Regions from separate parts of the Homo sapiens genome. Here region 2 is linked to region 1. The links are contacts of gene promoters, found by promoter capture Hi-C in human tissues and cell types (Jung and others, 2019). All regions are on one chromosome and are shown on one strand. Each heading gives the region's core, a stretch centred on a gene start or on the middle of the fragment in contact. The rest is flanking DNA. Distances are from core to core; before and after follow the strand shown. Region 1 holds the start of MRO (maestro). Region 2 overlaps ELAC1 (elaC ribonuclease Z 1).

Region 1 (7,698 bases), core at 3,482-5,981:
GCTGGTCATGGAGGAAACTTTGGAGGTGGTGGAGATAATTTTTGCCGTGGTGGGAACTTTGGTGGAAAGGAGGCTATGGTGGTGAAGGTGATGGTAGCAGAGACAGTTATGCAGGAGATGACAGTGGATAGAATGGATTTGGAGGTGATGGTAGCCACTATGGGTGGTGATCCTGGTCGTAATAGTAGAGGGGGCCGTGGTGGTGGTGGACCAGGATATGGAAACCAAGGTAGTGGATATGGTGGCAGTGGTGGATGATATGATGGTTACATTGAAATTTTGGTGGTGGTAACTATGGTGGTGGTGGAAACTATAATGATCTTGGAAACAGCGATCAAATTATGAATGCATGAAAGGGGGCAGTTTTGGTGGAAGAAGTTCAGGCAGTCCCTGTGGTGACCGTTATGGATCTGGTAGTGGAAATGGTGGATATGGTAACAGAAGGTTCTAAAAACAGCAGAAAAGAAGGCTGGGCACGGTGGCTCACACCTGTAATCCCAGCACTTTGGGAAGCCGAGGTGAGCAGATCACCTGAGGTCAGGAGTTCGAGACCAGTCTGGTCAACATGGTGAAACCCCGTCTCTACTAAAAATACAAAAATTAGCTGGGCATGGTGGCGGGTGCCTGTAATCCCAGCTACTTGGGAGGCTGAGGCACGAGAATCGCTTGAACCCGGGAGGCAGAGGTTGCAATGAGCCAAGATCATGCCCCTGCACTCCAGCATGGGGGGTAGAGTGAGACTCTGTCTCCAAAAAAAATAAAAAAATAAAAACAGCAGAAAAGGGATACAGTTCTTAGCAGGAGAAAGAACAAGAAGTTTTGGGAAAGCAGCAAGTTACCTTGAAACAGTTGTCCCAAATGCATTAGGAACTAAAAATCTGCCACGGAAGAAACGATGATACATAGTTAGAAAAGTTACTGCAGCTTAAACAGAAAACCTTTCTTGTTCAGGACTGTCATAGCCACAGTTTGCAAAAAGTGCAGCTATTGATAATGCAATGTAGCATTGGCTAGATGAACATCCCTATGGTCTTTTATCTGCTATAGCTTTTTCTTTTTCTTTTTCTTTTCATTACATCAGGTATATTGCCCTGTAAATTGTGGTAGTGGTTCCAAGAATAAAAAATTAAGGAATTTTTAACTTTTCAATATTTATATAGTTCAGTTTTTCCACATTTCTGAACAGACACTTTAACAGAATAGTTTTGAGGGTGTTTCCTTGTGGGTTAACAAATAAAGAAGATCATTGTGAATTACTGCTTTGCATAAATTTTGCTAACGTTAGCTGTAAAGAAACACCAGCTGACTTGCAGTTTAAGGGAATTCTATTCTCCCCATTTCCAAACCATGATCTAAATGGGTGCTGACATGTGGAGAGAATATTTGTACGCTTGCAACGTCTATTTTAAATAAATAGGATTGGGTATTTAAATTAGCATATTTATGAATTTAATAGCATTAAGATTACCTTCAAATGAAAAAATCTCAAATTTCAAAATCAAAATAAAAGAAGCAAAACTCCCTCAAGCTGAGGGCCCACTCACCAAGGAGGGTGTGGGCCTCATTATAAAACAGCTGGTATCTCTGTTCCAAGGCATAAGAAAATCATGCCTGAAGCTCCTTTCCATTGGTAAAGAAAACAAACCTGCTACCCTGTTCTTTCTGCTTGACTTCTCTTGCAAGATTAGCATAACAGCTAAGGGCTTTAGCCAGCCAAGGCAACTTCCCCAGGCTTCAGAAACCAAGCAGCCAGCATCGCCTTCATAGGCGTAAGTAGAACTCAAGGTCATGCTCCCATGCACGGCAAAGTAAATGAGAACTGAGTGGCTCCACCTGGAAGATTCGATCTGTGATTAGAGAAACTCACAGAGTTACATCTTGAGCTCACTACCTCTTCTAGCAAACCCTACCTCCCCATCACAAGAGAAAAACTGTGATGTGGTTTAATCTTACAGGTTGTCAGGGATCATCTCAATCTTGGGTGCAGGAAAAGTAGAGCATTTCTCAGTGTTGGTTGCACCTTCTATATCAGAATTCCCCGGGGTACGTGTTACAAACTCCAAGCCAGAGGTGGGTGCAGTGGCTCACACCTGTAATCCCAGCACTTTGGGAGGCTGAGCATCCCTTGAGCCCAGGAGTCTGAGGCTGCCGTAAGCCATGATTGCGCCACTGCACTCCAGCTGGGTTGACAGAGCAAGATCCTGTCTCTAAAAAATAAAAATAAATAATAATAATAACAATAAACTCCAGGCCTGCCCCAGAATTATTGGATCTGAATCTCAGGGAGTGTCGGGCCTGAGCATTGCACTTTTTGTATGTGGTGCCTGGTGATGCTACACGCCTGTTGGTATAGAAGAACCTCTATCCTGGAAATTAAATAAAGCTAATCCGAGCCCATGCAGTAGCAGAAACCATGGAAGTCAGGGAGGGAGCTGGGGCCGAGGGATGAGAAAGAGAAAGAGGTCAGTGTCTTTGCAGAGAACAAGAGATTGATACCATATGTTTGTGAAGCACTTTGAATTTCACTTTAAAAATAAAATTAAAATCACAGCAGCTGTTTGTCTATGATTTATGCAACTTTTCTAGGATGCTATTCTTCAGTTAAAAGTTTCATTAAAAAATAAAACAAATTAGGAGTTAAATCAAGGTCACAAGGCCCCTCGCTGGAGCCTTGTGTTTCTTGTACTTGCAGCTTCTTAAAGAACTCCCACCCCCCGCCCCATGCCCTCCTTCCTGCCTGCAGTGCCTCCCTCCTTTCTAAAACATGAAGTCCTTTACACCCAATCCAACAAAAACAAAAGGATCATTCTCATCTGTTGCAACACAGGATCTCAGAGAGGATCGTTTTAAACACACTGTGAATGAACGTAGTATACAGATTCCAAGATTTCTTAGGATGTTCTAACTCCTTCTCCAAGCCCTCTCACCCGTAAGACAGGCATTCTTTCCTAGGAGAATTACATTTTCTGGTGGGTTTCTATGGTCACCACATATGCCTAGCCTTGTATGACCAAGACCAGGAGGTCACCTGGCCATTTGGAAGCCAAAGACACAGCTCTGCTTATAGTTTTACTCATCTCTGCACACGTTCTTCAACGAATTCTTCTTCCTCTGGAACATACCCCTGAGTGAGCTATGTGCAGACCCCTTGGTTTTCACGAACCCCAAGACCCCGGCTGGGGCTTGTGTTCATTGCCAGGTTGTGCTCTACCTGATCTTACTGAAGATACATGGATTTGGGGTAACTTAGAAGACTGTTTTATGCTTTACACTGACTCCCATCTGCTTTTGCAAACTTGAATGATTCTGACTCAAAATATTAGATTTTTGGTCAATAATCCTTTTATTTATTGAAGCCAAAAGGTATATTATGAAGGCCAAAATTATAAAACACTTTGATTTTATCTCATCTGTAAAATGAGCAGAAGAAACTGTTAGATTGCTTAAAAATCCTTCCAACACTGAACTTATAAATGACAATAGTAGGCTGCGTGTGGTGGCTCATGCCTATAAATCCCAGCATTTTGGGAGGCTGAGGCAGGCAGATTGCTTGAGGTCAGGAGATCAAGACCAGCCTGAGCAACATGGTGAAACCCCGCCTCTACTAAAAATACAAAAATTAGCCAGACATGGTGGTGCACACCTGTAGTCCCAGCTACTCAGGAGGCTGAGGCAGAAGAATCACTTGAACCCAGGAGACAGAGGTTGCAGTGAGCCGAGATCGGGCCACCGCACCCCAGCTTGGGCAACACAACAAGACCCTGTCTCAAAAAAATGAAAAAAAAAATTAATATTAAAAAAATCGTCTTCATTTTAGAAAAGAAGAAACTGGGCTTAAAGTAATGTTGAACAATTAACTCAAAGTCAAATACTGGCAGAGCAGATTTTAGGACTCTGAAAGATATCCTTTCAGTCACTGTGCTATAAGCCTAGGTTCAGCTCCCAGGCAATGTCCTGTGAGCTGAACGAGGGAAGACAGACCGCATAGACATTTCAGTTTAAAGTGTCAATATCTTCCCTGAGTCCCTGCCATTCTATTATATTGCTGACAATAGAATGATCTATAACCCAACTATTGATCGATTAACATAGTTTGTGAAAAGCAAACAAAATCAGCTTCCTGGTCAACATTGCCCACTTCAGTTTTACAAAGAGAACATTACCAAATCCTACCCCCTAGAGGTCGAGCTCCCATACTGGTGACCAGAGTGACATTCCAGAAAGGTTTTGGGAACCCAAGTGCAGCCAGGACGCCTCCCGCTGCATCTGGCTGCCCCGGCCAACAGTGTCCCTTACCTGCGGCTCCTGCAGGCGGCTGCCACGTGATGAACCGGAGCCCGTTCCTGACTCGGGAGGGCTGCTTTCCCGGGTAGTAGCCAAATGTGATGACTCGGCTAAATTTTCCCAGCCCTGAATTCCTAACATACAAGAAGGGAAATTAGGAGGTGACGCAGGGTCTGTCCAGGATAACGGGTCGGCACAGAGTGTTGGAAAGTGAGAATCAAATAAGAGGGGAAAGTCAAAGTTTATAGAGTATTTGGGCAGGGGAGGGAATTGTTCTGGAATGAAACCGACAAGAATATTGTAGGGTGGCACAAGCATGACTTGCTACCTTTGCTTCCCCACGCCATGCTGAGGTGTTTTTCCTTCTCCTTGCTGTGATTTCCCCTCCTTCTTCCCTCATGCCAGCCTGGTCGACACTTTCTGCAGAAATTCTGCAGATGGCAATTCTGGGGACCTTTCCTCTGCACCAAACAAAACCTCCCTGCCAAGGCCCGTTCCCCATGCGGCCGCGAGATGGCGGCATGACTCAATGGACGGGTTCCAGGCGACCCCTGCACAAAGCCGCCGCCGTGGCTGCCTCCTTCCTTACATAATCCTGTTAGAGCGCATTTAATCTAAGGATGGGACACTGTGTTCCATGCCAAGCAGCCTCATCGTGGCTGATTGTTGCACCAACAACAAGAGCTTTAACCGTTGACGTCCCTTCCTGCTCAAGAAACACCGTATGTCCCGAAAGGAGCGATTTAAGCTCTCAAAATGATTTATTGGTAAAAAGCAAAGCAAAATTAAAACCGGGGAATTACAGCACCTGCAGAATTTAGGAGCCTCTCTCTCTCATCAGCCCTCCTTCCCTGACTCTCCAAACACGTGCATAAATCTATTTAACAATAATTAGTTATCGTCTCGCTCTGCATTGGGTCATAAAGGGAGAAAATATGTCCTGAAAGGAAAAAAGAACAGTTATATTTTCAAAGACAGAGGCACTTATTGTTATGCTAATAGATAACATTCAATTAAAACTTCTGTGTGCCAAATGTTGTGATAAATATTACATAGACTATCTCATTCAATTGTTACATCAAACCAAAGGTTAATACTCCTACTATAGTCTCCATTTTAAGGCTGGAGAAACTGAGGCACAGGGAGATTACCTTGACAAAGGTCATGCAGTTAATTTGTGGCAGTTAAAATTCAGCTACAGGCAGGCTAATGTAAGAGCTTGGACTCAGCCATGATGCTATGCACTGGACTGGTCTAGAAAACCCAGGAGATAAACAGAAAAATATAAACCAGAGAACTATGTCAGAGTGGAAGATGAAAGAAAAAGGCAGAAAGAAAATCGATGCTGCTGAGAAAATAAGAAGAATGAGGCTAAAACACCACCCTCTTCAGATTAAGTTACAAGGGAACCACTGTGACATTTGAGGACACAATTTCAATAGAGTGACAGAGAAAGGAAGCTAGACTGCAAAACTAAGGGGCTATGAGGAAAGAGGAAATTGAGATGTCTTGCTGCAAAAGGAAAGCAATAAATAGACTAGAAGAGACAGCAAGGTCAGGCAAAAGCATTTTGGTTTTCTTGTGTGCTTTTTGAAATGGAATAAAGCCTGGCCTTGTTTGAAAGTGGTTGCAAGGGAGCCCTAATATGTGGCTGGTGCCAAGTAGTGGTAATAGGAAGAGGTGGAGGGGGCATCAAGGGCACGAGGGAAAGGGTTAGCTCTGGAGGAGGAAGAAAGATGGCTGCCTCTGCCTGCAACTGGGAGGCAGCCACAGAGATGAAGATACATCAACACAAAACTGAGAGGAATGGGCGAGTTCAATTCTTCCAAATTAGCTTTAATCTTTTCAGTAAAACCAGAGTTAGGTTATCTGCCAAGAGCGAGAATGAGGTTTATACGGCCATAATCTATATACTGAACTAATCCATGTAGTGCTTAGAATGACCAAAAAGGTAATAAGATTATCCGAAGAACAGAGGAGACTGGAGAAAGGAAGCCCAAAGTATGATTGTAAAGATTCTCTGCAAAATCTCCTTTGTGAATCAGAACTGAAATTTACATCCCCTCCTCCCCATGAACAGAAACACAACAAACTATTAATAACCCCTTGTGTCTAAAGTTTCTTTGTATTCATGTTTTAAGATATTTGACAGAGAAATAGTATCTTCTCTACTGTTAAATAGGAGAACTAATATGCAGATAAATTTTCCTGTTTGACTTAAAACTACAAAGAACATCAGGGCCAGAACTGGAATTGATATCCAGGAGCCTTTCTGATACTTGCACTGTGCTGACCTCAGCTCTACTAAACACTTCTCATAAACGGCCTGGATGCAGCTAACTGCCCCTAGAGAATCCCAGACACAGCACAAACTTGGGAAGCATCAAAATCAACGCATGATGCCCACAAGAGTCTAAGATTCTCCTTATGTGGCCCTGGGTCACAGTACAGTTCTTTGGAAATTAGAGGGCAAGTTTGATAATTTGATTGCAACATATTTGCATATCTATAACATGATGTCCTTAAAAGAACACACCATAATTATTTAATGTAAGGATTTAATGACTCTATTTTCATTCTCAATTAACATTTCCTTATTGCCAGAAGTACACTGGGGCTGGCACAACTGGAAAAAGCAAAGAGGGTAATTATTTAGCCTGCATTACTGATGAAAAGGGCAACAGGCAAAGCTAAAGCAATCCACAATTCACCTTGTATGTGAATTACATGTGTATTACAATGTGTAATCAGGAAATTTATCTTTTTTAGTTTATTTTATTTTATTTTTGAGACAGGGTCTCACTCTGTCAGCCAGGCTGGAGTGCAGTGGGGGGAACTTGGCTCACTGCAACCTCCGCCTCCCAGGTTCAAGCGAATCTTACGCCTCAGCCTACCGAGTAGCGGGACTACAGGCGCCTGCCACCACACCCGGCTAATTTTTGTATTTTTGATAAAGACGGGGTTTCACCATGTTGGCCAGGCTGGTCTCCAACTCCTGACCTCAGGTGATCTGCCTGCCTCTGGGATTACAGGCATGAGCCACTGGGCCCTGCCAGGAAATTTATCTTAAAGAGAGAGATTTAAGTTTCCTCCCTCTCATCTTCTTTCAGGAAATACATCCCCCGCCCCCCGCCCCCCGCCCCCCAGCTAAGCTAAACTCTGTCTTGATTTTCACTTCTAAAAAGAAGTAAAATCAGCCACCTCCTTAGCCACAGGTTGGGTTTAGCAGCTTCTCATTCTTTCCTTCTTTCTTCCAGTGTTTACTGAGATCCTGCTTCCATGGAGGCAGAGTGCTCGGCAGGTGGGACCAACACTCGGACTGCGCTCTCAAGGAGAATCAACCAGTAGAGGACTTGGGACTGGGGCTTACGTGCCCACAGCGCAAGGCAGGAATTGATAAGAGCCAAGGAGAGG
Region 2 (7,698 bases), core at 2,528-5,027, 170 kb after region 1:
ATACAAAAAGTAACTGGGTGTGGTGTCATGTGCCTGTAGTCCCAGCTACTTGGGGGGCTGAGGCAGGAGGATCACTTGAACCTGGGAGGTCAAGGCTGCAGTAAGCCAAGATAGTGTTACTATACTCCAGCTTGGGTGACAAAGCGAAACTCTGTCTCAAAAAAAAAAAAGTGTCATAGTAAGCTTCCACTCCTCTATCCCAGGCCTGAAACTGACAATTTCTCCACTTAGTCCCTTTGTCCAAAGTTTGCTTATTAAGGAAAATCCATGGGGCCAAAAAATGCTATTTAGAGCAAAACCCAAGTATACATTTGAATCCTGTCTTCATCTCCCTGGATCCACATTCTTAGTCTGTCTTCACCTTATACTATCTTGGTTGGCAAGGTGATTTGGGTGGTAGTGGTGGTGGTTTTAGGTCCAGGCTTTATTTTTTCATGTCTTCCCTTTGATACGTGTTTTTGATGACATCTTCGGTCTGAGAATTTTTGCCATCGTTCTTAACCTTACAACTGCAACCATGTGCTTTCAGAGTTTACTTCTGTATCTACTTTGCTTACTAATTTAACCTTGATTAAATTAATTTGGTATTCAAAACCCTGTGCCTCAACCAGTTTTAGATATCAGGGTTCATCGTAGTTGAAAGCAAGCATACAGAGGTGGGCTTGGGGCCCATCTAAGGCTTCACACCTCCTCTATGCTAAGCGCTAAGCCAGCATGCATGAGGGGATCTTTTCAGCACCTCTTGTGAGGTAGAGTCCAGGTACATTATATCTCCAGTGTCACTGCCTTCACAGGCATGCTGTGGCAGTGCCTGTAAAAAGCACAGTGGCATTTTGTGTGTGTTTGTTTTTTTATTTATGTGATCTCTTCCTCAACTAAAACAAAATGCTAGATAATGAGGAAAAGTGACTTAGGCCAAGGATATTTTTATTACCTGAAAGCCTGTGGAAATACTATTATATTTGGAAACTTTAAACATGATCTGTGTTGGAATTGGTGGTCATACTATACTAGTTTGTAAGTATTGTCCATAGTGATGATCAGGTCTTACTTTAAATTAATACGAGATTTAAGCCCACTTTGATAAATGTGGAACTGCCCCTGTCTGCCAAGAAGACTAATAATGTACAATTGCCTGAAAAAATGCTCCTTGATCTTGTAATACAAACAATCCTGCTAACAATTTTTTTATTAAGTTACTTTGTAGGTACTTGTTTTGACTAGGTGTTGATTATATCTTTTTTTTTTTTTTTTTTTTTTTTGAGGCAGTCTCACTCTGTTGTCCAGGCTGGAGTGCAGTGGTGTGATCTCAGCTCGCTCACTGCAACTTCTGCCCCCTGGGTTAAAGCAATTCTTGTGCCTTGGCCTCCCATATAGCTGGGACTACAGGTGTGCACCACTGCACCTGCCTCGGCCTCGCACAATGCTAGGATTACAGGCATGAGCCAGTGCACCCAGCCTGACTATATCACTATTTAAATACACTCTCAAATTTTACCCAAAGGTGAGCTTATTAAATAAAGCACTCTCAAAAACTGTTGTTTCTGTGCACAGCAGAGAATCAAGAATGTTACAGTGACTACAATAAGGTCCTAGTGATACTTAGGAGACTAAAACTTGTCTGACATGTATGCATGGGAAATGTTTCAAGTACTAAGGCATTGCTAATATCAATCAACACTGAAATTTTAAAAATGTATAAATCCAGTTTTCCACAAGTAGTAAAACATTTATAACAATTATGGATGCCTTTTCCATTAGCTATTTGCAATGCTGTTAAAATAGACTCTTGAAAAGTCATAAATTCCATTCCTATGATGTAATGTTATCTGCCTTCATCATTAGGTGTTCCACCAGGTCCTGCCTATGGGAAGCTGAAAAATGGAATTTCTGTTGTTCTGGAAAATGGGGTTACAATTTCTCCCCAAGATGTCTTAAAAAAGCCTATTGTTGGAAGAAAAATCTGCATATTGGGTGACTGCTCTGGGGTTGTGGGTGATGGAGGAGTAAAACTGTGCTTTGAAGCAGACCTGTTGATCCACGAAGCAACCCTGGATGATGCCCAGATGGACAAAGCAAAGGAGCATGGCCACAGCACACCACAGATGGCAGCAACATTTGCAAAGTTGTGCCGTGCAAAGAGGCTGGTTCTGACTCACTTCAGTCAGAGGTACAAACCAGTTGCCTTGGCCAGAGAAGGAGAAACAGATGGCATTGCAGAACTAAAAAAGCAAGCTGAATCAGTGTTAGATCTCCAAGAAGTGACTCTAGCAGAAGATTTTATGGTGATAAGCATTCCAATCAAGAAATGAAACCAGTGTTCCTGAGTGCACACTGACATGTCTGTGAATATGTTACTGAACCTATAGTCCAGTTTTTTTATTTCTTGTTTTAGTCTGAAATTATTTGGGCCCTAATAATCCTAAAAAGAATGGAGCTGCATTGATGAATTGGCTCAGTATTTAAAGGGAGCAAACTTTTTGATAATAAATCTTTTTAAGAGAAAAAAAACCCAGCATCCTTTTTGAAGTCCAGATTTGTCAAAATGATAGACTATTCAGTTATACATCTTATTTTGTGCTACTACCACAGATAGCCAATATTCCATGCAGTCCTGGGCTTAGCTTCTGCCCAGCTTTATTGCTGCTATTGGCAAAGAGCACAGGACTCAGCCCTCGTGGCTAAAAATGGTATTTTGGCAGTTTGTATTGAATCTGTTTGTGTTATTAACAGAAGAGGGAGAAATGTCATGAGACGTTGGACAGGCAGGATTGATGATAGCATGACCATAGCTTTGCTGGAATACTGAATGCAGGGTTTGGCTAGGTGTTTATTTTAACATTTTATTAAACTTTCTATTTGGGTCTTAACCCATGGTTCTCAGCTGGGGTGACACTGCTCCTCTAGAAGCAGGTTTGAAATTATGGGTATGTTTTCTTGTCACAGTGACTGAGTACGGTGGTGGTAGTGGTGGTACTACTACTACTGGTATTTAGTCAGCAGGGATAAGGGATGTTAGCTGTCCTGCAAAGTTTTGGTCAGTCATATACAATAAAGAATCATCTCACCCCGAAATGCAAATTGCAGGCCCATTGAGATACACAGCAAGTTAGTTTATACTCTTGATGTGAATATAGTTTACCAAAATTAGTGACATAATGAGTGGAATTACTAGGTAAGTCAAATCCTAAAGAGTGAATGTGTTAGAATTGCAGTGTCATACCAAATAACATTCAAAAGAAATGAGCCATTAAGTGAAGCTTATGAACCTGGAGGTAAAAAATGCTTATCTGTTAAACTGAGGTTTCATTGACGTGTCCCTATTAATAAACGTTATTTGCCCCACAATGTTTCTTAAAACATGCTCCATGGAAAGCTAGCCTTCAGTGCTGATTCACTCAGAGGAGCTCCTCAGTCAAATCAGTTTGGGAAACACATTATTGCTGTCTGTCCTCCTAGGAGTGGTGTAGTGTCCATCAACATACTAAAAACAGTATTGCTTCAAATGATCATAAACCAGTGTTTGATGCCAGAAAGACCTGATCCCAGAGTCCCATTCTCTGATATGTGGTAGTACCTCTGTGTGGTCTGGAGCAGGTAACCCACTCTCTGAGTTTCTTCAGCTTGTTCATTTCAAAAATGGGAAAAACAGTAAGACCTATGTCATAGATTGTTAAACAAGACAACATATATAAGGAGCATAGCACATTGCTTGAAGGTGTTGAGAAATCCTGCAGTACAGAGGCCTGTCAGCTCTGTTGAACCCCTTTCTCAGTCCTATTTCACCAGGTACTACCTGTTAACATCTCAGGAACCTAGAGAGCTTTACAGCACACATATTTAGAAACACTGTTGTAGTACTTACTGTTCAATTTCCTCTGGGTTCTGGGGCTTCTCTGGCCAAATTTTTTGACTCCTGGCTAGTTGTGGAGACTCCAAAGTAGTGATGATTGGCTGGGGGCAGTGGCTCATGCCTGTAATCCCAGCATTTGGAGGCCAAGGCAGGCGGATTGCTTGAGCCCAGGAGTTCCAGACCAGCCTGCACAACATGGTGAAACCCCATCATTACAAAAAATACAAAACTTAGCCAGGCATGGTGGTGTGCCTGTGGTCCAGCTACTCAGGAGGCCAAGGTGGGAGCCTGGGGCGGTTGAGGCTGCAGTAAGCCATGATCATGCTATTGCACTCCAGCCTGAGCAACAGAGCAAGACCCTCTCTCAAAAAAAAAAAAAAAAAAAAAAGCAAAAAACAATGATCAAAATAGGTCTGGTTACTTAAGATATGATCATTCTGATGCAGTCTCTAGAATGGTCTGTCTTACTATAGACTCTGCCCGCAAAAAGTGCCAAATTTTGATCATGCATAAAGCATGCCATGGTTTCTAAATTCAATTCAAATAAGCATTAATTAGACATCTAATGTACCTAAACTTGTGCAAGAGGCTAGGACTCTAGGACTAGAATGGCTCAGATGAGTATCTCTAATGCATGAAGCCCCTGAGGATAGAGATTATTATGTCTTAGTCACTGCCACATCCTTAGAAATGTCCACCTAGAGCTGAGTGCAGTGGTGTGTGCCTGTAGTGCCACCTACTCAGGAGGCTGAGGTGAGAGGATCACTTGAGTCCAGGGGTTCAAGTCCATAGAGACATAGCAAGACTCCATCTTGGCCAGGGGCAGTGGCTCACACCTGTAATCCCAGCACTTGGGGAGGCCAAGGTGGATGGATTGCTTGAGGTCAGGAGTTCGAGACCAGCCTGGGCAACGTGGCTAAACCCCCGTCTCTACTAAAATTACAAAGATTAGCTAGGTGTGGTGGTGCATGGTAATGAAACTAGCCCATTTCATTACTGAACTTACCGGAAAGAATTTACACCACCTCTTTGGTGGTGCCCCATTCACTGAGTACTAAGTAAGTGCCAGACTTTATTGTGTTGGTAGTACATAAATGAATAGACAAATGGCAAAATTCCAGCCCTAAGCACACAGCCTAGTGAAAGAGACCAGTAGATAAAAAGTAAATCTGTAGTTGCTTCACATGTTCTAATCTTGTATCCTGGGCACTCGAATTTTGCTGTTCCTGAGCATTACTTGGTAGCTGACTTGAGCCATGCCCTTAGAATCAGGCTCTATAAATACATATGGGCTAAGCCCTCAGAGGCCATGGGAATGTGGAAACGATATGTTGGGTCAAGTGTAGAGTATCAGTCCATGATGAGAACTTTTTCTAGACCCTCTTCTGGGCTAGAATTTGTTTTCAGTGATAGAGACATTCTAAGAATTTGTGGAGCTAGAATTAAGAAAGAAGTTTATATTGGACTTCTCGGAACCTGTAATCTACCCAAGGATTTGACTCTTAAGTGGGGAGGGTGACCATATTATGTATTGTGTCCCAAATTTATTTGATTACTGAATCCTCTTTTTGCCAAGGAAGATCTTGGAACTTTAGAAATGCCATTCTCCATACGTTGCAAAATTATTCTATTTATGTTTTTTACCTGCAGAATTTATTGAGCTCATGATTTCCATGTCTACACTTAATGTATTACTTCCTTTGTCCTAAACTGACTCAATTGTAAGGAATCCATACATACCTACTTATTTTAGATTTTATTTTATTATTATTATTATTATTATTTGAGACAGAGTCTCATTCTGTATTTTAGATTTTAAAAAATGCACACTTGTGGCCAGGCACCATGGTTCACCTGTAATCCCAGCACTTTGGGAGGCCGAGGTGGGCGGATCACTTGAGGTCAGGAGTTTGAGACCAGCCTGGCCAACGTGGTGAAACCCCATCTCTACAAAAATTAGCTGGGCATGGTGGCGGGCACCTATAATCCCAGCTACTCGGGAGGTTGAGGCAGAAGAATCGCTTGAACCTAGGAGGCGGAGGTTGTAGTGAGCCGAGATCACACCACTGCACTGCCTGGGTGAAAGAGCAAGACTCCGTCGCAAGAAAAAAGAAGTGCATGTTCTAATTCTCCAAAGTTGTTTACACTTGCCCAGATAGACCCTAAATCAGCTCTGTTTAATACTCATGCCTCATTAATGCACTTTTAATGAACTTTGAATTATAAAAGCAGCGTATGTTTGGTAGAGAATTTTTTTAAGATGCAATAAAAGAAGACAATTATTCGTAATTCCTTCACCCACAGAGAGCTGTTATTTCTGATCCAGTGGTCCCCAAACTGAGGGGTGGGTGAGAATTACTCAGGGTGTGTAGGTAGACAGCGATCCTTAGGCTCTGTTTTCAAAGACTTAGGCTCTGTTTTCAAACGTCTGGGGTAATACCCAAGAATTTGCATTTTTAATAAGCCCCCAAGGTGATTCTGAGGTATATGAGTGGCAGACCATATTGGGAGAAAAAAACTGTCTATTCTATGCGTTTTAAAAGTTTTGCGTGTGTTTAGATATTTTGTATGTGCTTCTACCTATGTTGGTATGTGTGTATATTATACACATGTACACCTGTATATTTTTACATGTAGGCTGACCTCAACTGTTTTTCTCATTTAGCATATTATGAGGATTTCCCCACGGCATTAAGTGTTCTCTGAAAGCATGAATTTAATGATTTTCTATTATTGCATTCTATAGATACAGTATCACTTAACCGTTTTTTTATTTGGAGGCAGTGAGATTGTTTTCCGTTATTATAAATAATACTATCATGAATATTCTTATGCATAAATCCTTGTATCTCTGAGTATTTCCTTCCTTAGAATTGATTTCTCTGAGGGTGAAAATCTGACTTCTTTTTGGAGGTTCTGGGTAGGAATTGCCCACTGGTTTCCATGCTCTTTTACACTCCTAGCAGCAGTGAATAGGAGTGGCCTGTCTTGGTATTCTATCTGGAGATGATACGGAGTATCATCAGCTCATGACCTTGCTAACGCTTCTTCCCCAAGACATTAGTCCTATGAAGATTATTTTCACCTCCCAGTGCAAATAACTTTGTTATGTCTTGCAAGTAGGACATATTGTGATTTCCTTGAATACTCTTATGCCAACTTAAAAATTTGGTAGTTTTTACTTTAGGGGTAAAAATCCTTACTGCTTCAAATATGTCCATGATAGATGTACAGTGAAGGTACTTTTTTACTAACAAAGGTATAAATTTATCGTGAAATGTGCTGGTTCTGTCCTTACTGATTGATGGATTTTTCAGGTAATGAATGAGTCAGTATTTTTCTTACATGGGAAGACTAAAAAGGAAGCGCTGGTAATGCTCTGAATGTTCCCTCTTGGCAGGATAAGAATAGAGCGGGGAGGCGGGTAAGATCGCAAAATTATTTTCTTCCTTAGTAGGAAGTAAACAATGTCTAAAAGTGAAAAACAAATAGTACTCTAAGCATAGTATGTTTTTAAAAAGCAGAAGGTGGGGAGGAGAGACTACCAGATGAATAGTTAAGAGTGGAAGAAGGGGCCAGAAGGGTCAAGGGGGTGGGGACAGATGGTCAGGGGACCGCTATTTTTTATAAGCCTAATAGTATTAGCACTATTTTACATTTTAAACCATTTGTGTGTATTCATTTAGTTTAAAAATTACATTAAAACACACACACAGATAAGATGCTGCTCTGAGTAATCTTAACAATTGCGTGTCTCCCCATGGGTGCTACAGGCAGTTAGCAGCTGCTCTCAAGCCTTTGTAACATTCCAGTCCCATTCTCCATACTGCAGTCTGAGTCTGTGT

The links. Contacts are between HindIII fragments. The study calls those that stand out against the background at their distance.
Region 2: a fragment that was not itself captured here is called in contact with the fragment with the promoter of MRO in region 1 in 1 of the 25 tissues and cell types used here (H1 embryonic stem cells).

The regions. Positions count from the first base shown.
Region 1 is chr18:50,815,285-50,822,982 of GRCh38, forward strand. MRO (maestro) reads right to left here and starts at 4,732. Exons shown (of 8, transcript NM_031939.6): 1 at 4,613-4,732; 2 at 4,297-4,418. It also overlaps the pseudogene HNRNPA3P16. RefSeq lists enhancers at 4,417-5,050, 4,887-4,936. The HindIII fragment of the contact is 21,582 bases long and covers 1-7,698 here.
Region 2 is chr18:50,984,774-50,992,471 of GRCh38, forward strand. ELAC1 (elaC ribonuclease Z 1) reads left to right here. Exons shown (of 4, transcript NM_018696.3): 4 at 1,846-3,348. The coding sequence ends at 2,312. All of the region lies in intron 1 of LOC107985152 (a long non-coding RNA gene), which reads right to left. Among named protein-coding and RNA genes, the nearest start is that of ELAC1, 21 kb to the left of the region's middle. RefSeq lists an enhancer at 7,255-7,698. The HindIII fragment of the contact is 4,113 bases long and covers 1,722-5,834 here.